Linked DNA regions of Homo sapiens: all the other regions are linked to region 3. Evidence: promoter capture Hi-C in 16 types of primary human blood cells and fetal thymus (Javierre and others, 2016). All regions are on one chromosome and are shown on one strand. The core of a region is centred on a gene start or on the middle of the fragment in contact, and the rest is flanking DNA. Distances in the headings are between cores, read along the strand shown. Region 1 has its middle 66 kb from the start of NELL2. Region 2 overlaps GXYLT1 (glucoside xylosyltransferase 1). Region 3 holds the start of TMEM117 (transmembrane protein 117). Region 4 overlaps PPHLN1 (periphilin 1).

The links. The method cuts DNA at HindIII sites, captures the fragments that hold promoters and counts their contacts. A CHiCAGO score of 5 or more calls a contact.
Region 1: a fragment that was not itself captured here is called in contact with the fragment with the promoter of TMEM117 in region 3 in 1 of 17 cell types (M2 macrophages); the score reaches 5.6 in M2 macrophages.
Region 2: a fragment that was not itself captured here is called in contact with the fragment with the promoter of TMEM117 in region 3 in 1 of 17 cell types (M2 macrophages); the score reaches 5.1 in M2 macrophages.
Region 4: a fragment that was not itself captured here is called in contact with the fragment with the promoter of TMEM117 in region 3 in 1 of 17 cell types (M0 macrophages); the score reaches 5.1 in M0 macrophages.

The regions. Positions count from the first base shown.
Region 1 is chr12:44,939,409-44,945,298 of GRCh38, forward strand. No RefSeq gene overlaps it. Among named protein-coding and RNA genes, the nearest start is that of NELL2, 66 kb to the left of the region's middle. The HindIII fragment of the contact is 168 bases long and covers 2,087-2,254 here.
Region 2 is chr12:42,133,997-42,139,653 of GRCh38, forward strand. The region is part of intron 1 of GXYLT1 (glucoside xylosyltransferase 1); the gene reads right to left. Among named protein-coding and RNA genes, the nearest start is that of GXYLT1, 8.0 kb to the right of the region's middle. The HindIII fragment of the contact is 3,412 bases long and covers 1,155-4,566 here.
Region 3 is chr12:43,834,831-43,841,210 of GRCh38, forward strand. It overlaps TMEM117 (transmembrane protein 117), which reads left to right and starts at 1,251. Exons shown (of 8, transcript NM_032256.3): 1 at 1,251-1,366. RefSeq lists silencers at 926-1,035, 1,066-1,505, 1,492-1,724. The HindIII fragment of the contact is 19,666 bases long and covers 1-6,380 here.
Region 4 is chr12:42,362,544-42,368,510 of GRCh38, forward strand. The region is part of intron 4 of PPHLN1 (periphilin 1); the gene reads left to right. Among named protein-coding and RNA genes, the nearest start is that of PPHLN1, 39 kb to the left of the region's middle. The HindIII fragment of the contact is 791 bases long and covers 3,433-4,223 here.

The DNA of each region.
Region 1 (5,890 bases), core at 921-3,420, 1.1 Mb after region 3:
ACCACAATGAGATACCATCTCACACCAGTTAGAATGGCAATCATTAAAAAGACAGGAAGCAACAGGTGCTGGAGAGGAGGTGGAGAAATAGGAACACTTTTACACTGTTGGTAGGACTGTAAACTAGTTCAAGCATTGTGGAAGTCAGTGTGGCGATTCCTCAGGGATCTAGAACTAGAAATACCATTTGACCCAGCCATCCCATTACTGGGTATATACCCAAAGGATTATAAATCATGCTGCTATAAAGTCACGTGCACACGTATGTTTATTGTGGCACTATTCACAATAGCAAAGACTTGGAACCAACCCAAATGTCCAACAATGATAGACTGGATTAAGAAAATGTGGCACATATACACCATGGAATACTATGCAGCCATGAAAAATGATGAGTTCATGTCCTTTGTAGGGACATGGATGAAGCTGAAACCATCATTCTCAGCAAACTATCGCAAGGACAAAAAACGAAACACTGCATGTTCTCACTCATAGGTGGGAATTGAACAATGAGAACACCTGGACACAGGAAGGGGAACATCACACTCTGGGGACTGTTGTGGGGTGGGGGGATGGGGGAGGGATAGCATTGGGAGATATACCTAATGTAAATGACAAGTTGATGGGTGCAGCACACCAACATGGCACATGTATACATGCGTGACAAGCCTGCACGTTGTGCACATGTACCCTAAAACTTAAAGTATAACAAAAAAAATGCTAAAATAAATGATATCCACACGTAAAAAAAAACCAAAACTGTCTTATTCATCCCTATACTTAATCCCAACCACCTGAAATTCAGCAAGCAACACGTTTGTTGAATTGAATCAATTATATCTTACAGTAGTGTTTAGCCAAAATAATAAGTTCATGAATAAGAATCATAGATGTAGCAGACCAGCACTGAACAACAGGGTTACTGATTTATTTCTAAGGTTGTCACTTACAAAGCTCTCGTTTTGCAGTTTTTCAGTCCTGGATCTATTTTTATAAAATATCCTGATCAAACAAGGGCAACAGATAAAAGAAAAATTATCTCCATCTTATATCTATGTTTTTATTTGTAGGTGGAAACTTGGTGTGATTTTTTTTCTAAAAAAAAATCTTTCTTTAAATAAAAATCTAAAGAGGCAGCTTGCTAACATGGTAGAGAACAAAAAAGAATAAAGGGAGAAAAATTAAAATTTCCCACAAAGATGACTTAAATCTCCCAGTGTGGTGCATTTGTTTTCAATTCTCTCCTCTTTGCTTCTGACCTCTCAACTTGCTTGTTTGTTTGTTTGTTTGTCTTTTGAGACAGGGCCTTACTCTGTTGCCCAGGCTGGAGTGCAATGGTGCGATTTTGGCTCGCCGCAAACTCCGCCTCCCAGGTTCAAGTGATTCTCCTGCTTCAGCCTCCCGAGTAGCTGTGATTACAGGCACGCACCACCACGCCTGGCTATTTTTTGTATTTTTAGTAGAGACAGGCTTTCACCATGTTGGCCAGGCTGTTGTCGAACTCCTGACCTCAAGTGATCCCCCTGCCTCGACCTCCCAAAGTGCTGGGATTACAGGTATGAGTCACCATGCTCGGCCCTCTCTCAACCGTTAGCTCCCACTCACACCCCTCCCTTGACTTTATTTTTTACCTAAAACATTAACACTTGATTGTGGAATAGTTAGTAGCAAACACAGAGAGAGAATTTGTTATAAGTCATTTCTTAACAAAGAACCATTTGAAATCCAATTTCTGTTATGACTTTTACTTTTTTTGGACATCTTCAGGCATTTACCTCAAAATATTATCAAAGTGTTTGGCTGCAAAAAGAAACAAAAATACCAACTTTTAAACAACAAATGGATGTAAAGCTCTCTAAAGAAATCAATGTTAAATAAAAAGTTCAAAATGTCCTATACTTGCTGTGTGCTTAAATGCTGAAAAAGGAAATGTATGCCAGGAAAAAACTATTTCATATGATTGTGCCATATGTATACAGATCAAGAATCTAATTCACAGCAACTCTATTTTTAGGTGAGGACCAACAGTTTTATAAACTGGTTTGGAAAGAAGAAATGTTTCAGCAGTCACTAGATAAGAGGAAAAAGCTTGATGTGAAATAATTCTTTTAGTTCTCTGTAGGGTCAAGGATTCAAGTATCACATACAAAATGCGATGCTGAAATGGGGGAAGTCACTATAACATACTGCAAGTCTCTCTAATTTAAAATGCCATTCAGACTTGTACTCATGGAATACAAAGTGCTTCTTATAAAGCTTGTATTACAATCTATTTCTTAGCTCCTACTTTGGATTAAACAAGATAGTTACACAAAAGATCCAGGAGTAGTATCTGACACTTAACGGTTTCCTTTTCCTTTTCCTTTGGAGGTAAGAGGAATGTGAGCATGTTTCTAATTTCCAAGGAAAAATTATTAAATATCTTTGAATCTTGGTTTCTTCCTGTGAAGGATGATAAAACCACTTCATCAAGTCATTGTAAGGGATAAAAGTTATAGCCGATATAAATAGTTAATTGTATGTAGTTGCTCAAAATAAAGTAGCTATCATTATTAGCACTATATTTTTAGAGTGGTTTAGTATAAACTGCATATCCAAACTTCTAACCTTTACAATATTCACCAAAACTCAAATCTAAATAGACAAAGTATGCTCAAATCATGATGTTATATAGAAAAACCTCTAAGGTGGTTAAGCGACTTTATTATGGTATTTTAATATCATGAGTTTTCTCAAAGTGTAAGCTTTGAAATTTTAATAATAAAACATAATGATCCATCTATATTCCAGTTTGTTCTTCATCAAAAATGGGTTTCCAAGAAGAAAATCTAATTGTACCAATGCAAAAATCCTAGTAATGACTGGCTGAAAATCTGAGCAGCTCTGAGGTAATTAAGTTGAAAATGCCAAGGAAAATTGTATTTTTGTGGTTGTTATTTTATTACCCTTTCCAGCAATTTTCCACTTGAATACCTTTTAAATGTATAATTTAGCCGCACTTTATTCTTTACTGTATATCAATATGGGAGGCAAATAACTTAACAGAAGACCTGGAACCACCAAGAATTCTGGTTCTAGTTCTTGTATTGATTTAGCTCTTGATTTTCCATATTTAAATTAGGATAATAACCTGACCAGTTTCAGAACCATGTTGTCATGACCTCTTCTTCTTTTTCTTTGAGTCTCTCCATCTCCTTTCCACCACTGCCAGTCCCCAAAATACTGTGGAACTGAATTTATCATAAGTGAATTGCTTGCATTAAATTATCTGATATAAAGTAGTATTTGGCATAAAAATGATCATAAATGTTTTCCCCCTTCTTATAAATAATGCTTTTTCCCTTTTTCTCAACAGTTCTAATTGCCTCTTATTAAACCTATGAAATTAACTTCTCCTGATTTTAGTAATTCCAGTCATTTCAGCAAACCCAAGAGAGCCAAGGACTGAGCTCTGGAACATTCTGTTACTTAAAAGTCAATATTTAAAGATTCAAAGGTGAATCCCATCAAGGTGGAAGCCTGATTCGATTTGTCATGAGGATATGGGCTGAGACCGTGGAGACATTAAGGTTGGCTGTAAAGGGTGGTCAATAAATCGGTAGCTATAGGGGACATAAAAGCGAACGAGGGTTCTATTCTCCCTTGATCAATATTACAGCACATTACAGCAGGGAGAAGAGAGATATAGTGATTATGCAAGACAGAACAGAGATAATTATGTCAGCAAATTCTTGAGAAGGTGAAAAGAGATGGAATCCAGTGCACAAGTAAAGGGATTGTTTTTAACATGGGGACAGAGACCCTTCCTCTGTAATAGAAATATTCAGATGTGAGAGACTAGGTGGTGGGAAAATATCATTATCTTCTGATTGCTTCTGTTTGCTCAGCAAGATAAGAAGCAAAGTCATCAGCAGAGAGTGAAGAACAAGGAATACAAGTTGGAAATTTGATAAGAAAAAGTGTAACATAGTAACCTCAGACAGGGAAAAAATAATTCAGTGAGAAAATGGAAACTGTGGTTGACAACTGCAGAGAGGCACTAAGGGCCCACTTGAGACACAGTCATGAAAATTAAGAGAGATCCCTCAGCTAAGTTAGATGTTCCTCTCCAACCATGAACTGCAAGCTTGGTAAACATTTATTAAATGTTTATTAAGTGCCAAGCACTATTCTAAACACTTCATTTTTATATTACTTTATATTAATACGTTTGAGCCCGCAACAACTCCATTAGATAGGTATACATGAGGAAACTGAGGCACAGAGCAGTGAAGAAACTTACTCAAGCCACATGGCTAGTAAATGTTCGACTCAGGATTCAAGGAGCGTGGGTCCAGAACCCACAACCTTAATCACTAAACTATGTGACATTTCTGTGAGTGCTTGGGATTAACCAGTATTGATGTTCTGCCATTTGAGTAAGGCAGAGAGTGAGGCAAAAAAGCTGAGGGCATTTACAAGTAATTAAACAATGGAATCTAAGCTGGACAAGGAGGAAGTGAGGATAAAAGAGGGTAGTGGAAACTAAAAATTGTAATAGTCAATGGATTAGAAGCCCCAGAGTAGTCCACAATTGTCATAGAGGCAGTTAGCTGAAAACAGAAGAAGGGGTGTTTGGTGACTGGATGTTAGAAGATGAGATTTTGAGTATGGTACAGTTATTCACAACAACATAGTATAAAGTTTTACCATGATGATTGGCAGCTAAGGTCAGGGGGTGAGATGAGGCATGAAAAGATTGTAATGGAAAAGGTCACAAGGCCATGCGTGGTGGCTCACCCCTGTAATCCCAAAAATCTGGGAGGCCAAGGCGGGCCCATCACCTGAGGTCAGAAGTTCGAGACCAACCTGGCCAAATGGTAAAACCCCACCCCTACTAAAAATACAAAAAATTAGACAGGCATGGTGGCCCACACCTGTAATCCCAGCTACTTGGGAGGCTGAGGCAGGAGAATCACTTGAACCTGGGAGACGGGGGTGTCAGTGAGCCAAGGTCACACCACTGCACTCCAGCCTGGGCAACAGAGTGAGACCCCATCAAAAAAAAAAAAAAAAAAGAAATAAAGAAAAGAAAAGGTCAAGAGACTTAAAACAAAATCCATTGAATGTACTTTATATATATATGTATATATACCAAAGGTAGTCATGGAAAGAAAGAAAGAAGTCAGGTGTTAACATCTTCACCAAATGAGGAGCTTTGTAGATTACTACAGGATGGAAGGATAAGCATAGTCCAGCGGCTTTGCTCCAAATAGATATTCCAACTCTTCCCAATTTACAGATAACTTTCTTGGTTTTAACACTGAAAGTCCCACATTCTGGGCCTCCATGAGCTAGGGATTTTGAAAGATGAAGAAAAATGAGACATTTTCTGGATATGGCAATGAAAAGATTATACCTGCTCTATCTCCAGGCCTTGTGAGATATGGATGTTATGAATTTTAACTCTAAAAAACTGTCATGCGGTAGGTACTACTATTATATTTGTAATTCCTCTTCTCAGAATAGAATGCTTTGTTAACATTAGCTGATTAGTTTGAAGCAAATATTTCCAAAACATTTTCCTCACATTTTGTGCTACCTTGATTCCTAAAGGGTAATGATTATGTTTCTTGTCTCGCTAAATCTAATATGCTCTAAAAGCTATAGCTAATTCTGTTTTACCAATAAGTATTGTAAATACTTGAATGCACCCAATAGGAAAAAATCACTCAGGTAAGAAAGTCTTTTCTCACAGAAAAAGTGTTGGCACTCGGGAAAGGATAGGCGTGGTACTGCAGTATCATCCTATAATGAGAAATATTCTGCCATAGAAGGGTCCACATCTTCCACTCCGCTAATTCAAAGACTTCTGGGTCTAGAGTATGGAGGGAGAATCACAGTATTTCAT
Region 2 (5,657 bases), core at 1,611-4,110, 1.7 Mb before region 3:
CACCAGCCTGGGCAACATGGCAAAACCCCATCTCTACAAAGAATAAAAAAAAAATTAGCCAGGCATGGTGGTGTGTGCCTGTAGTCCCAGTTACTCGGGAGGCTGAGTTAGGAGGATAGTTTGAGCCCAGGAGTTTGAGGCTACAGTGAATTGTGATCATGCCAATGCACACCAGGTCTGGGCAACAGAGTGAGACCCTCTCTGACAAAAGAAAAAAAAAGAGAGAGAGAAGAAAAAGTAAAAAAATGACAAATCCTGGACCCTGTCAGAAACTGCAATCCAATACCTCATCTCAGACTAGTCTCTGATCTAATAATTATGGTTCTTTTTTCTGAGACAGGGTCTTGCTCTGTCGCTCAGGGTGGAGTGCAGTGGTACAAACACAGCTCACTACAGCCTCAATCTCCTGGGCTCAAGCTATCGTCCTGCCTCAGTCCCCAAGTATCTAGGACTATAAGCATGTGCCACCAAGCCTAATTTTTAAAAAATTTTTTGTAGAGACAAAGTTTTGCTTTGTTGCCCAGGCTTATTATTTATATCCCATTACATGTGTGGAAATCACTCAGCCCTCCAATCACATGCTTCCTAAGTATAAGCTCCCTGCTTTACCCATTTCCCTCCCTACTCAGACTACATCATATGGTTCATCCATTCATGTTCCTATACCTGCAAACTTCCACCTTCTTCTTTCACCGTACCTTTTCAGCACAATCTTCAGTTGAAACTGAGCTGTTCATTCACATTCTCAGATGAATACTGAAGAACAGTTAATGACATGACTATGCTGATTAGTAGAAATATAAATTAATTGTCTTCCCCTTAGCTAGTCTCATACCTATTACCAACTCCATATGCTTCCCCTTGTTGCCCATCTTCTTCTCAGGAGTCCTTAAAGACCTTCTTGCATCAATTAGTCTTTCTTTCTCCTTAACTGGCAATCTCTATTTGTGTAGTAGACTGTATTACTGTTCAGTTATTCACTCCCCACATTTAACTGTAAAAGGATTATACAACCCTATTCATTACCATGGGCCTTGCCTGCCTGATAAGGGAGGCATATATCCCTGCATCATTTATTGACTTTGACCTTATTCAAGTGACTTGCTTTGGCCAAAATAATATAAAAAGACATGATACTGTGGCATCAAAGTAGAAGCTTCAAATGGGACTGTGTTGTTCAATCTGGCTTCTTGCTCATCCACTACCACAAGACCAGGCATATCCAATGTATGGATTGCTCCTTTAGCTTGGATCCCAGGATGAGAAGATATATCAAGCAAAGTCATAGCCATAGACATGTAATGTGTGCAAGAAATAAATGCTTGCTATTGTAAACTGTTTAGATGTATGGGGTTGTTACAAAGCAAAGCAGAATAATACAAGCATAATTCCCTTTTAAAGTGTGTAATTCAATGGTTTTTCGTATATTCAGAGTTGTGCAACCATGACTCACCAATTAAATTCCTCAGTATATACTCAAGAGAACTGAAAACATGTTCACAGAAAAACTGTCCATGAATGCTCAGAGCAGCATTATTCATAATAGCCAAAAAGTATGAAAGAACTCAAATGTCCACCAAATAATGAGCAAAATGTGGTATATCCATACAATGGACTATTATTTGTCCATAAAAAGGAATGAAATATAGTGATACACGCTACAGTGGATAAACCTTGAAATATTATGCCAAAAAGAAAGCCAGATTCAAAAGGCCACATACTGTGTGATTCCTTTATGTAAAATGCCCCAAACAGGCAGACAGAAAGTAGACTCGTGGTTGCTCATGACTGGGGGACTGAGGAGTGCAAGGTGGGAGTTACTGTTACTGGATACAGGGTTTCTTTGGGGGGTAATGATTTACTTCACAAAGGTTTAATGCAGTCAAAATTGGATAGGAAAAATCAAGTTATAGGTAAATTTATTGATCATAATTCAATGTCAAAAAACACATAGTATATAGGAAAGATGTTTTTCTTTCTTTACTGGAAATATAAGAACACATGCACTAGTGAATACATATGCTGCATACCATTAAAAAATCATAAAACACTTAGGTATTGCTGTAAGGAATGAAGTAATTTGTTTATAGTTTTTTAACTCCCAAATATCTATTCTCCCATTTTGAAAAACTGGTTTGGGAGATTTAGATAAAGAGTAGAAACTCACACTGAGAACTTATGACATATCAGTGGCTTATTAGAAGCAATAAGATAAATTAGCAAAAGCAACTCATCTGAAGACAGCACTTGCACTTTTAGGCCAAAAAGAAAAATTAAAGTTTGAAAATACTGGAAAAGTAAAGGTAGTTATCCAGGTTCTGGCTATTAGTTGCTTAAAACTGTTGAAAGCAGAATATTAAACATCCAACATTCAAAGAGGTAACTCTATTAAATAATTTTAATGAGGCAAAGCATTAATATGAGTTAGGTGGGTATGTCTTCACTATACCCATACTGACATTCAAAAGCACTGAAGTCCTAAAAGGGAACTTTTTCACTGTGGATCAAACTGAAATAAAATGTTACTATGGCTCATCCTCAAGTTTAATAAGGCATAAAGCATCTAGCTCTAGGTAGCTTGTCTACAACTGACCAAGGGGTAGCACAAGGTACCTTTGCGGTGATGAAACAATTCTGTATCCTAATCCTAATTTTGGGGGTGGTTACATGTATTTACATGTGATAAAACAACACTCGGCATAATAACATTTGTCAAACTTGAAGTTTACTTAAAACCAATTACAGGAGGTTTTTTATACATACATACATACATACATACATACATACATACAAACAAACACACACACACACAAGTCGCCCAGGCTGGAGTTCAGTGGTGCGAACACGGTTCATTGCAGCCTCAACCTCCTGGGCTCAAGCAATCCTCCCACCTCAACCTCTGGAGTAGCTGGGACCACAGGCGCACACCACTATGCCCAGGTAATTTTTTGTATTTTTGTTGTTGTTGAGAGAGTGTTTTGCCAAGGCTGGTCTAGAACTTCTGGGTTCAAGCAATCCACCCACCTTTGCCTCCCTGCTAGGATTACAGGTACGAGCCACCATGCCTGGTTGTACTTTTAAGTTAAACTAGAAAAAGTAATTTTCATTTCAAAATGTCCAAGATAGGAGGCTTCAGTGAAAACTATGCAAAACTTACCAAAGAGTCAGTGATACGAGATGAGCCTGACCAACATGGTGAAACCTCATCTCTACTAAAAATACAAAAATTAGGCCAGGCGCAGTGGCTCACGCCTGTAATCCCAGCACTTTGGGAGGCCGAGGCAGAAGGATCACAAAGTCAGGAGATCGAGACCATCCTGGCTAACACAGTGAAACCCTGTCTCTACTAAAAACACAAAAAATTAGCCAGGCTTGGTGGCATGCACCTGTACTCCCAGCTACTTGGGAGGCTAAGGCAGGAGAATCGCTTGAACTCAGGAGGCAGAGGTTAAAGTGAGCTGAGATCGCGTCATTGCACTCCCGCCTGGGCGACAGAGCATCTGTTTCAAAAAAAAAAAAAAAAAAAAAAGCGGATCACAAGGTCAGGAGATCGAGACCATCCTGGCTAACACGGTGCGGTGAAACCCTGTCTCTACTAAAAATACAAAAAATTATCTGGGCGTGGTGGCAGGCGCCTGTAGTCCCAGCTACTTGGGAGGCTGAGGCAGGAGAATGGCGTGAACCCGGGAGGCGGAGCTTGCCTTGAGCCGAGATCATGCCACTGCACTCCAGCCTAAGTGACAGAGCGAGACTCCATCTCAAATTGAAAAAAAAAAAAAAAAGTCAGTGATAAATTTAGGCATATTCAGCATAAATATTTGACAGTATGAATGAAGTGCTGCTGCAAAGCAGTAATGCAACTTCAAGGCATGTATACCCTCCCTGTGACTGTGCAAGAAAAGCAAAGATGCTTACGGACACATTAAAGGAGGCCATTCCCATGATACTGCCAAATCACTACTATTTAATTTTCAACTAAATTGTTTCCAAGTCGGGCGCAGTGGCTCACGCCTGTAATCTCAGCACTTTGGGAGTCTGAGGCAGGCAGATCACCTGAGGTCAGGAGTTCGGGACCAGCCTGGCAAACATGGGGAAACCCTATCTCTACTAAAAATAAAAAATCAGCAAGGTGTGGTGGCATGCGCCTGTAGTCCCAGCTACTCAGGAGACTGAGGCAGAAGAATCGCTTGAACCCAGAAGGTGGAGGCTGTAGTGAGCCGAGAGAGTGCCACTGCGCTCCAGTCTGGGTGACAGAGACTGCGTCTGGGTGACAGAGACTGCGTCTCAAATAAATAAATAAATAAACAAACAAACAAATAAATAATTTCTAGACAACTTAACTTCTAGCTCTAAGTAAGATCTTCTTTTTCTTAAATTTCTAATTTCATTAATCCTTGGCAAGTAGGAAAAGGACTGCTTATATATAAATGACACTGAAACAATCATCTACCCATTTCAAAGAATAAGTTAGCATCACACAATATACCTCCTCTACCAGCCCCCAGCTCCCCCACAAAGCTGGATTGATTTAAATCTAAAAAAGGGAGGGGAAAAAAACTGGTAGAAAGCTTTCCTATGCGTAATAAAGGTAAACACGATAAAGTAAAAAGTAGCCAATCTGAAAACAAAAATCATAAACCTCATACAGTACACACATTATGAACAAAATTTAAGTTTATACGTAGGGGAAGTACTTCCAATAGGTATGGCATATAGATAATGATCTTACTGCTTTAAAATAAGATTTTCTAGGCAGGGTATGGTGGCTCATGCCTGCACTTTGGGAGGCCGAGGCAGGTGGATCACCTGAGGTCAGGAGTTCAAGACCAACCAGGCTGGCCAACACGGTGAAACCCCGTCTCTACTAAAAAATACAAAAAGAAAAAAACAAAAAAAGCTGGGCAGTTGGCACACACCTGTAATCCCAGCTACTTGTGAGGCTGAGGCAGGAGAACTGCTTGAACCCGGGAGGCGGAGGTTGCACTGAGCCAAGATCATGCCACTGCACTCCAGCCTGGGCAATGGAGCGAGACTCTGTCTCAAAAAAAAAAAAAGCCAGGTGTGGTGTGCACGCCTGTAGTCACAGCTACTCGGGAAGCTAAGGTGGGAGGATCACTTGAGCCCAGAAGGTCAAGGCTGCAGTGAGCCATGATCTCAGGCCACTGTACTCCAGCTTGGGTAACAGAGTGAAACCTTGTCTCAGAAATAAAAAAAAAAAGATTTCTAAATCAAAAGTACATATTATTTTTTCATCAACCAAGTAACTTTCTCCTCCAAAAGCACAGAATATTTTAATTAATTAATTACTAGTATTTATTAATATGTGTCAGGTTTGGACTAAGAATTTGCTATGGTCTGAATGTGTCCCCTCAAAATTCATATGTTGAAATCTAATTACTAACATGATGTTAGGAGGTAGGGCCTTTTGGTAGATGATTAGGTCATGAGAGCAGAGCCCCCATGAATGGGATTAGTGGGGGGCCTTATAAAAGGGGCCTGCCTCGCCTCTTCTACCATGTGAGAACACAGGGAGAAGGCGCCATCTATGAACCAGGAAATGGGTCCTCATCAGACACTGAATCTGCTGGTACCTTGACTTGGATTTCTAGTCTCCAGAACTGTAAGAAATAAATTTCTGTAGTTTCTAAGCTCTCTAG
Region 3 (6,380 bases), core at 1-2,500:
GTCAAATTAGTGGGAAGTATGGCAGTGAATTCCCAATTATGCCTATGCAGATAAACTACCCTATGGCACTTGGGCATGGCTCTCTCCATCCCATCTTAAAATCCGCGGACATCTCAGTTCTCCCTCTTGCCATCCACCCATTCCTGAATCAGGCTACCAGTACAGGGGAGGGCCTAGCTCTGCCTTCATAAGTTTGCTAATATGGGCATATAGAAATCCTATTTTCCATTTGATTATATACACTAGTGATAACTTCCATTACCACAAAATATTAGCATGCTGGATAGCAGCTGTTAACACGTTTTCAGCAACCGGTAAACTGAGGTAGCAGTTGCTATTAGGTGTGGAAGGAAACAGAGGCCACACATACATGATGGAAAGGAGGTTACATTCAGGAAGAGAGGAATTGGTCAGATGTAGTCAAAGGGTCTTCCTGCCCTATGCCGCAGAGGTATCATTTAGGTATCATAGAATGACAGGCTCCGGAGAGCCTCAGACTGCAAAAACTTTAAAAATTGTACATGAGTATGTGTGCTGATGTACATATGTGTGTATGCATGTGTATACGTGTGCTTATGTGTGTATACATATGTATGCATGAGTGTATTTGTGCATCTCTATGTGTGTATGAATGTGTGTATGTGTGCATATGTGTGTGTGTGTGTGTGATACCAGGCAGGTTGGAAAGTAAGTGGAAGACTTCTCATACTCCTCATGGGCTCTGCCTCTCCCCACCCCCACATCCCCACACCACCAACAGACAAAAACAGAAATCATGTTTTGCGACCTGAGATTGCTTTCGAAAGTTTGTAGCTCTTCGAGGACATTCCAGTGGGACCCTCATTGGTTCCCTGCAGGATGGTGGATTTTCTGTCAGCCGCCCCCCAACCCCCACCAGGTTCCTGAGTCCGTCCCTCGCCTGCAGCTGCCGCTCTGCAGAGGCGGGCCGGCCCGGGCAGGCTCGGCCCGTGGCGCACGCGGCCCGCGGGCTGGAGTCAGCCCGTGGTGCGGGCGAGAGGGCAGGGGCGGGGAGAAGCCATGCCTCCAGCTGCAGAGGTTGCACACAGCTGGCATGATCGCGGTCACCTGCGCGGCGCCGGTGCCCTTGCGCTCGCGTTGCCCGGCCCGCGGCCGCGGACTTTGCGGCGGGAGCGCGGCGCGGTGAAGCACCGGCGCGGAGGGCGCCCGGCGTAGGCGGCGGCGGGTGTGGGCCGAGCCGGTATTTATAGCTCCGTGACAGCAGCAGCGGCAGCGACGCCGCCGGCCCGTCTCGCCGCGCTTCCCAGCGAGGCCGCCGGCGCGCCGAGGGCTGTGCTCGACCGCGAATCCCGTGTGCAGTCGCCCCGCGCCCCGCGCGACCCTTCGGGTGAGTACGTGGGCCCGGGCGTTGGGCGAGCCTCCCCAGCCGTTCGGTCCAGCCGCAGCGGAGCCCTCCCGGCCCTGCCGCCCGTGTCCCGGCTGCCACCTCGTCACTGCCCGCGAGTGCGGAAGCAGCCGCGGAACCCCGGCCCGGCCCCCGAATTCTCCGGCGCCTCTGCTCCTGCCTTCCTGGGGATGGCAGCCAAAGAGGCAGGGTGAAGTGTCAAGGAGGGAGGGGGGACGCGCCAGCCCTCTGGCTAAGGGCAGAGGAGACTCCCGGGCGAAAGGCTCTTGGTGGGAGTCCTCAAACTCCCGGCTCCAGTGTGTGTGCAGAGATACGGCGGGAGAGCAGACCTTGAACTTTCCTTGCTTCAGCGATTCCTAGCCTAGGAACTGAGTAAAAGCCCTATTTTTCTTAATTAAATTAACAGGTTGCAGTTCGTAGGTGTTGTTCTTGGGAAAAAAACAAAGACTTGGGTGTTTGGGTGTTTGCTAACTTCATCGTGACTAAATAAAACTATTTTTTTTCATTCCTATTTTTGAAAATGCCACAGGCCCACAAGTGTGTTCTACCCTCTGTGGAACAATGAAGTATGTGTATGTGTGTGTGGGTGTGCGTGTGTGAGAGAGAGAGAGACACGGGAGTAAACATCACATGCTTATCAGGAACCAAAAAGGAAAAAAAATGAGTAAAAGTATGTTGAATATAAGGGTATGTATTGCCCCCAATTATAAATGATGTATTGTCTGAAATCCAAGGAAGGACTTCTAGGAAGCTACAGGGTTTTGTTTTGGCTTCAGAAACAAGGTCTTCCAATTTATTGAATATAAAAGTAGTTGAATCCCTGTAAACCCCATTTTTTTTTGTAAAGTATTGACATTTGACCATGGATATACTTTCTTTTATCCCCCAAGTCTTTATAGTTTAAAAGTAATTATGGATTTTGACATTTTGTCTCAGGCATTTATCCCTCCTATTCCACCCTCCATCTGATCCGTGTGATGAGAAACTGGCTCTTGTCAGTTTTATCTAAGTTTCTTTAAGCTGTCATTAAAAAATAAACTTTTCACATGAATTCTATTTAATTCATTAAATGTGTTTTTCTTTGGCATTGTGTTTGGAATATGATCATGGCAATTTCTTTTCTTTTCTTTAATTTCTGTCTTTCTTTCTTTCATGGAGTCGGGCTCTGTCGCTCAGGCTGGAGTGCAGTGCCATGATTTCCAGCTCACTGCAACCTCCGCCTCCCGGGTTCAAGGGATTCTCCTGCCTCGGCCTCCTGAGTAGCTGGGATTACAGGCGCGCGCCACCATGCCTGGCTAATTTTTGTATTTTTAGTAGAGATGGGGTTTCACCATGTTGGTCAGGCTGGTCTCGAACTCTTGACTTCGTGATCCGCCCGCCTTGGCCTCCAGAAATGCGGACATTACAGGTGTGAGCCACTGCTCCGGGCTGGCAATTCCTTATTGCAAACAAATCACTGAAAAGGAGGTCTAAACATTTTTAAAGGATATAGTAGTGATTATATTTTAATTTTATAATGTGCTCCGGCTCATAAATATTTTGCCATTTCAATGGAGAGTTTTCTCTGTTCAGAGGACCCCTAGACCTACTTTGCTTTTGGAGTTGCTGTTTTAAAAACTTGCATTGATTAAGCAATTTGTTTACCCAAGGACTGCAGGATAGGAACAAGGGAAGAAAAATCACTTAAAGGTTGAGACAATGTGAAGAGAAAATCTAGGAAGTGATTTATAGATGTAAACCTCTAAATTAGCTAAGGTACCACAAATATTATCCTGGAATCTATCAGAACCACTTATGGTGGTTTTATTGATTGACTTAAAAGGTTGCTTTTTATTTAAAAGCCCCTGTGGTCTTTTGTATTAGACTAAAAGTAAGAAGTTCTAACTTTATTTCTGTTATTATTGCTATTTGTGTTTTTTTTTTAACCTGTATTAGGCACTTGCATTATGTAAAATGCTATGTATAATCTTTTCCTGCCTTTTTATCTAACAATTTAAGATAATGTACTCAGACCTGTCATTACCTCAGGACTGGTCTGTGTGTATGTGTACATATGTGTGTGTGTGAGACCAGGTAGGTTGGAAAGTAAGTATAAGACTTTTCATACCCCTTGTGGGCTCTGCCTCTCCCCACCCCCACATCCCCATACCACTAATAGACAAAAACAGAAATGATGTTTTGCCACCTGAGATTGCTTTTGAAAGTTTGTAGCTCTTTGAGGACATTCCATATATTTGGTTTTTCACCTTTCTTCCATTTATCCTTTTGCAGATTTGGATATGTATTATCCAGACTCTACTCTCTCTGGAATGGAGTCTTCCAGTTTTTTTTTTTTTTTTTTCCCTCACCCAGGCTGGTCTGTTACGTGTTATCCATACATCTGTTTATTCATTTATTCATCCATCAGCAAATATCTATAGAGGGCCTACTAGATTCAAGTCATCACTTAGTACTTACTCTTACTTCCTTCCCATTGGAATTTTATTCTGTGTTTTATACTTCACACAATGGTAACTAAGAGTAATAACTTTGGGGTTATATAGAGGTAGTCGTGCCTGTTTCTGTCAGCTGGTAGCTTTATGACCCTGGACAGATCATAACCTCTCTGAATTTCTGTTTCTTCACTGGTAAATCCAAATGGCAGGTATCAGGAATAATTGAGAGAATACATGGATAGTGATTTCCAAGAGCCCAACCCCTAAAAGCACTAAAAAGTGTTAATTACAAGTTTGCTGTCTATATCTACTGCATCCCTCTTCATCTCAGGAAATGCATTTTCCATCTCAGGAAATGCATTTTCTATCTCAGGAAATGGCAGTTCCATTCTGGATTTTGCCTAGGTCACATCTACATCCAATGTATTAGTAAATTTTATTAGTTATTTTTGAATGTGTCCAGAACCAGAGTTGTTTAAACTGCCTTAATTTCTCTCTGCTTGGTCCAAGTTGCTGCATCTTTGGCAACGGCTTCCTCAGTAGCTTCCCTGCTTCTGTTCCTTGCCCTCCTTTCTTACAAAATATTTTCAACCAGGAAACAGACAGGCCTTTCTGTCATATAAGTCAGATTGTGTCCCTCCTCTGCTTCCTGTCCCACTCAGGGTGAAAGCCCACATACGAGGGCTTCAAGGCCTGCTCATGATCAGATGCTACCTTCTGTACCTAATCTCTTTCATACTCCCCTGCACCTGCTCCCCATCCAGTCATACTGCCCTCCTTAACGATCCTTAATTTGCTCTAAATGTGCACCCAACAATGGCCTTTCCAAGTTTTGTTCCCTCTATCTGGATCACACTTTCCCTAGATAGCTGCTGTCTTCTCTCCCTTCTTTCATGCCTGTCTTCTAATGTCACCTTATAATGAGGTCTTCAACTTCCCTCACACCTGACACTCCCTGTTAACTTTTCCTTGCTTTAATTTTCTCTTTGAACTTTCTTAAATACTGTGTTTAGTTTTTATCTGTTTAATATCTGTTTCCCTCAAAGAAACTATCAGATGCATGGCAACAGGACTTTGTCTGGTAGTTACCCTAGCACATAGGCCAGTGCCTGGCAAAAAATAGGCAACTGGTAAATGTTGAACAAATGAATGAATGAATGTTATTATGGAATTAACAAATCTGTACATCATCACTTTTATATGATGATCAGCACTCTTTTGCTCTGAAACTTTTGATAATTCTCTATTTTCAGTAAAATACAGACCAACACTTTTGGATAATCTTTGTTGGACTGGCTCCAAATTATCCTTAACTCTCACAGGATAACCCCAAGCACCCAGTGTTCCAGCCACACAGAACTAGTGATACATCTCTACATCAGCCCCAGGCGGTTTCCTTTGTGCCTTTGCACAAAATAGAAGTACTGTGATTTTTTTTTTTAATATCAGATGGCTTTATTTTTCTAACTAACGTAAAGGGTAAGATTTTAGAATTTATGTCCTTGTGTGTGGAAGGCATTGCATGGAGTGTTGAAGCCAGGTGGCTTGGATTTAAATTGTGGCTCTGATATAAATTAATTTTGTTATTCTTTACAAGGTACGGAACTCTAAGTCTCTGTTGCAATATTTGTAAAATGAGGAAAATAATATTTTCTTCATTGGGTTGCTATGAAATTTAAGAGATGCTTGTAAAGCTCATCAGCATAGTATCTGGTATATAGTATGTGCTTAATAAATGTTAGCCTTAGAAATATTAATTTAACACCTCGTGCTGAAATGAGAGGGAGTTGAGGGGGGGTGCATTAGTATTGTTACTGGCCACGTCATCAATGCAGTCCTTGGACTCCACTGCTTCTCTTCGCTTTGTTTGCCTTAGCGGAAGTTGAATGGCAGGTTGCTCCACCTTCTCATCTCACCTAAACAATGAGGGAGCTTCTCTTTGTGAGTGTACCACTCAGCTCATCCAGTAGATGCCTACTGATCACCCAGTATGAGCCCAGTATTGTGCTGTGCCCTGGCAGTAAACAGCCACTTCTCTGAGGAGCTTATGATCAAGTGAGGGAGACAAACACATACATAGATAATTTCACTATAGTGAGCCAGGAGCTAAGATAAAAGCTCATTCTCATCTGTGGTTATAGAAATGAATTTTTAAAAATGGAAAGGTTTTGCAGACTATGTGCCCTGTGTAACATAGTCCATTTGAACAGCCTCAAGCCTGCATTTAAATTAACAGTAGATACACCAAATGATCATACTGATTGTAAAGATGTTTTATGTGCACTACAGAGGTGAAAACAGTTTTGGTTCTCTGGATAATATTGGGGTACCTAAGGAACTAGAAAGTAGGGCTGAGAGGACTAGGCAAACATTTGCAGCCTGTGTACGAAGTCATGAAGTGAGGATAAGCAGAGGTTTAATTCAAATTATTATGTAAGGGTTTGAAATTTGGGACCCTCTAGAAGATATCACTTCAACTTCAGAATTATGAGGCAAGAATAAATTCCAGCCAGCTTAAATGATCAATAATGGAGTCCTGTTTTGTTCTGCTAGTTGAAATT
Region 4 (5,967 bases), core at 2,578-5,077, 1.5 Mb before region 3:
CCTCACTCTAAATTCAGGTGTTTCTCCAAGGAGCACGGGCCTTCTATAGTGGAGAGTGATTTTTTGAAGCTAAGAATCTGAACACACAGACACACACACAGACTTTTACTTCTGCATTTATTTTTATACAGTGTTTATGTGTATTCATGACTATGAGATCATGGCATTACCTTTTCTTTTATTGCATACTTTTATCTCCTTTTTCCATCTGTGGGAAATCTGGCTCCCAGTTGTTAGGAGAGACAGTCCTCCATGGGTGTCTTGCACTCCTGCACATCTTGCCAAGATATGCAAGACCCTGGTCACTCATTATTCAGGGTAGTTCTCAGAGATGTGTTTGTAATGAGCAATCTTGAAGGCCAGAGTAATGTCTCCCTGTTTGTCAAACAGCAGGCTTGCTTATTGCTTGGTGTAAAAATGGTGGGTTCCTTAAGTTCAGTGTTCCTCAGTTGTGACCCACACCCACTGCATGTGCCACATTTATCTAGGCTTATATCATGTTACCCCTGGACTTGGTACCAGAGAGAACTGACACAAACATGCCAATGCTTGTGTTGCTATGCTATGAGTGATAAAGTTTTTTCTCTGACCCAGAAGTCTGCTAGGATCCAGGAAACAGTAACAGTCTTAATTTATAACCTTGTAGGTAAGGCAAAGTCAAATTCCAGACCTGACACCAGTATCATCACTGTGTTTGTTCACACCCCTAAATGTGATTATTATCCTGACCCCATGAGTCTTTCTTATTGCTCTCTCCAGCACCTTTTTTAAAATTAATTAATTAATTTAAAAAAAAATTTTTTTTGTAGTTTGCCACCACTGGGTGGGTGTTACAGGGCCACCTTGCATTCACACCATCTTCCACAGGCCTATTACTGGCAGTGGAACTTTATACTCTAGCTATTTTTTTTTCATTTTGTTATGTGTTTCATGCTGTGGAACATACTTTATAAATCTAGTATACGTGTATTAGTGGTTTATATTCAAATGTGTTTTACTAATGGAAGCGTGGAATCATTGGAAGCAACTAGATTAAATAACAGCTAATGGAAGAAAAGAGAATGTGTCAAGTTTTCTGTCATTTTCCCTGATGCCCACTCCCCACTGCCCTGCCCCGCTCTGAAAGTGATCACTTTCATATTTGGGCATGCCTGGTGAAGTTATCTACATTTCAAGTGTGTCATCACCTGCTCGTCTTGTTTCTGTATTTACACAATGATTATATTGTCTATTTTTTCAAAACATACTTATAGATGAAATTCAGAATATATCAGGATTTATTTCATTTTGTATCAAAGAAACATGCTATACTCTACCAAGAGTTAGTGACTTAGAATGAGGTTGTTTTCAGGTCATTTTTTCCCCCTGTAGTTATGAGATCTTATAATAAACCTTAGCGGTCGGGCTCAGTGGCTCACACCTGTAATCCCAGCATTTTGGGAGGCTGAGGTGGGCAGATCGCTTGAGGCCAGGAGTTTGAGACCAGCCTGGCCAACATGGCAAAACCCTGTCTCTACTAAAAATACAAAAATTAGCCAGGCATGGTGGCACGTGCCTGTAGTCCCAGCTACTCAGGAGACTGAGGCATGAGAATTGCTTGAACCTGGGAAGCGGAGGTTGCAGTGAGCCAAGATTGCACCACTGTACTCCAGCTTGGGCAACAAGAGCAAAACTCTGTCTCAAAATAAAATAATAATAGTAATAAATCTTAGGATGGAACTGATTTGAAGTATTATATAATGTTGAAAAATATGGAACAAGAGTGTCATCAAGTGGCCAATATACTTTACTTTTAAATGCTAGGGGCTGGGTGTGGTGGCTCACACCTGTAATCCCAGTACTTTGGGAGGCTGAAGTGGGAGGATAGCTTCAGCCCAGAAGTTCGAGACCAGCCTGGGCAACATAAGGCGACCCCATTTCTACAAAAAAAATTAAAAAATAAGTTGGATGTGGTGGCATGCGCTTGGTACCTTTGGAAGCTGATGTGGGAGAATTGCTTGAGCCTGGGAGGTTGAGGCTGCAGTGAGCTGTGATCACACCATTGCACTCCACCCTGGGTGACAGAGTGAGACTCTGTCTCAAAAAATTTTTAAAAAGGCCAGGCAGGTGGCTCATGCTTGTAATCTAAGCACTTTGGGAGCCCGAGGTGGGTGGATCACCTGAGGTCAGGAGTTTGAGACCAGCTTGGCCAACATGGGGAAACCCCATCTCTACTAAAAGTACAAAAATTATCTGGGTATGGTGGCATGCTCCTGTAATCCCAGCTGCTCGGAAGGCTGAGGCACGAGAATCACTTGGACCTGGGAGGCGGAGTTTGCAGGCGAAGGCGTGCTGTTGCACCCCAGCGTGGGCGACAGAGGGAGACTCCGCCTTAAAAAAACAAACAAAGTTCTAGTTGGAAGATCTCTTAGTCCATATCTTATGCCTGGAATACTTTCGTTTGTTCTACTTTTTCTAGAATGCTTTTAACTGTAAACATGTGATTTTGTGGAAACAGCCTTGAACTTGACCACCAAACTTCTAATCTGAACTCAAGCAGGCAGACAGGTGTTTGATTTTTTGATAGGATAGAAGAAGAGGTGATATGGAAAATTCCTCAGCTTAAGTCGCAGTGTCTGTGGTTTTCCGTTTCCACATTTAAAATAAAAGATATTTGAGGTTGTACTTCACTTATTCTTAAGCTTGCCTTGCTAATTACCTGGCTGCTTTCTCAAAATAATTCTTGAAATCGTAATTCTTTTTGGAAGTCCCTATTGACTAGAAAGGAAGTAGCCAATATTTTATATGAATATTTGTGTATATTTGGATGTGGGAAGGAGAGAAAAATGAGGTTCAGAATAAGAAGTAAATGCTTTCCATCTCCCCATTCTTCCCTTCCCTTGTATCCCTTTCTCCCACTTTGTCGAATTTTACTCATAACCGGTGAACATATGTCTGCTGACACTGAGGGTTCTATCACCGCTTACCTGGTTTGACTGATGTGAGGGGCGGGAATTACCTTGGGGATTTGTATTAACAGGAGAATCTGAGCTTCAAAAATCTGCTTTTCAAATAAGCATCTAAAGTAATCTGCAATCACAGATGGTTCAAGGACCACATTTTGAGAGACAGTGCCTTATGGGGTGTTAGTTCTTCCCTTCCTCCATTCTCCTGATGACTTTGCGTCTTTTATATGCCAGCCAGTATAGCTGGAGTGTTTGCGATATAGCCAAAGACACTGTCCTAACTCTCAGGCTGTGTACTCTTTGATAATAAAAAGCATCAGTTTCGTCAGATGTGTTTTTTGGAGGCCTCATAATCCTGGTTGTATTGTTATTTATATTTCTTCAAAGGCCCTTTTTGATTCATCGTATAGTTCATTGTATTGAATGCATTGTATCATATATGTTGATACCTTCATTTCCAACATAGCTAGAAACCTATAGTTTTGAAAGCTTTTGTTGTAAGTTTTCTCTCCATGGTAAATGGACCTTTGTCTTACTTGCAGTTTTTACCTGGTGATTTATGGAACAGTATTAAAAATATGTCCAGACTTTAATATACTGTTTCTCTATTTAGCATGCTTCAGGGTTATGGATAAAACAACAAAAAAATCCTTAAAATCGAGATGATACTTGCACAAAGAAAATTATACTAGTTGATACTGAGTGGTTTTTACAGCTAACCACTAGTACCGGACACTTTTTTTTTTTTTTTTTTTTTGAGACAGAGTCTCACTCTGTCGCCCAGGCTGGAGTGCAGTGGTGCGATCTCGGCTCACGGCAGCTTTCACCTCCCAGGTTCAAGTGATTCTCTTGCCTCAGCCTCCTGAGTAGTTGGGATTACAGGCGTACGCCACCATGCCTGGCTAATTTTTGTATTTTTAGTAGAGACGGGGTTTCACCATGTTGGCCAGGCTGGTCTGGAACTCCTGAACTCAGGTGATCTGCCCTCCTCGGCTCCCAAAGTGCTGGGATTACAGGTGTGAGCCTGCACCTGGCCTTTCTTGTTTTTTTTTGTTTTTGTTTTTGTTTTTGTTTTTTTGAGACAGGGTTTCCCTGTCCCTGTGTTGCCCAGGCTGGTCTCTAACTCCTAGGCTCAAGCAATTTGCCTGCCTCAGCCTCCCAAAGTGCTGGAATCACAGGCCTGAGCCACCGTGCCCCAGTGAGTTGGCATTTTAAACACAGGTTTTAGAACTTTCCTGGAGGCTGAGTGAATATTTTTAAAGATTAAGTGTCTCCTTAAGCTTTATCATGAATAATATGCAACACTTGGGTTTGGCTAGAAATCACTAGGGATTTAATGGTCCTAAAAAGGGAAATACTACTCTGGCCCATAAATCAAGGTTAAACTTCTAGGGTCCACACAGAGATAAAATATTAGATAGGACTGCAAATATGACTGTCAGAACGCCTTTCTTATCTTCATGAACAAGTTTTTTTTCTCTCTCTGTACACAGCCATACATTCATGTCTGTAAATACCTGGCTTTTTTAGGCTCAGTTTCACAAAATGTTGCAGAATGCTTTTAATTCTTTCTCATTCTTCTCATCACAATTAACTGTTGAACATAGTTTGCACTAGTTTTCAAATGTCAACCATGAGAGTTTCTATCTCAGGGAAAAAAGGAGAGATTATAAAAGAATTCCACTAATCCGTAAATGAGAAAGGGTATCTTGATGTTTATTACTGTTTAATTTTCCTTCCAACACTAACAGAGGTACATATACAGCTACTATGAATAATGGTGAGTACTCTGTGAATACTCTTAGGTACTAGTGCACATGATGTTAGTTTTACAAAACAGTTGAGTCCTATTTCTGTTAAATTTTTATCCCCTAGTATAAAAACACAATTTATGATAAATCAGGTAAAAATGAAAAATCAAAGTCTTAGTTTCTTTTTTTTTTTAATTAAGACACCATGGAAAGGTCAAACTAAGCAACCTTATGTCTTACCTTATATCTAAACAAAACCCTTTCCTAGATGTAATTCTTTGGCACAGTAACTGATTAGAGGAGATCATTTGCCTATTTAATAGAGAAAACTTATTTTAACTTTGTTATCTTAAATATTAATATTTAGTGAGGTGATATTTTTCGTCTATCTTCCATTGAATTATCTTCGTATCGTTTGTCTGTTTTTTATTAGTGTGTTCATCTTATTCTTAGTGGTTTTGCTAGCATTCATTAAAAGATTAAAAGTAAATCATTATTATTATTAAGTTTTTGAAACAGAGTCTCGCTCTGTTCCTCCAGGCTGGAGTACAGTGGCGTGATCTTGGCTCACTGTAACCTCCGCCTCCTGGATTCAAGCCATTCTCCTGCCTCAGCCTCCCGAGCAGCTGGGACTACAGGTGTGCACCACCATGCCCGGCTAATTTTTGTATTTTTAATAGACACAGTGTTTCACCATGTTGGCCAGGCTGGTGTCGAACTCCTTGAACTCAAGTGATCCATCCCGCCTCGGCCTCCCGAAGTGGTAGGATTACATGTGTGAGCTACTGTGCCCAGCCAAAAATAAATTATTAAATATTAATATTTAAGACTGGCATTGATGTTGAAATTTTCTCTTTTAATTGGAAATGTACTTTAAATCTAATTCTAATTTTCACCTTAGAGGCCTTTCTGTATATAGTTTATACTTGGTATTTTGATACAAAATGGCTCTTCCTGCATACTTACAAATTTTTTTTTCTTACAGTTGTTTTGGGTGGGTGGGGGATCTTTTTATTCTGTCTTTTCCATCCAAACATTTAGCTTTTCAATTCACCTGAATTTATCATGATATGCGTTATAATAAGAATTGATTGCTGTCCTCCCCAAATTGTCTCAGTTATATAAAATATTTTAAAGCTTGAGAGTCCATGTATTCATGTAAGGTTAAAAATGAGATAACTGATGATGAAAAGACTAAAACCTGAAATTGTAATATAGATACCATTCATGTCAGAATTGCTATGTCTGGAGAGGTTAGGAAAATGAAGCTC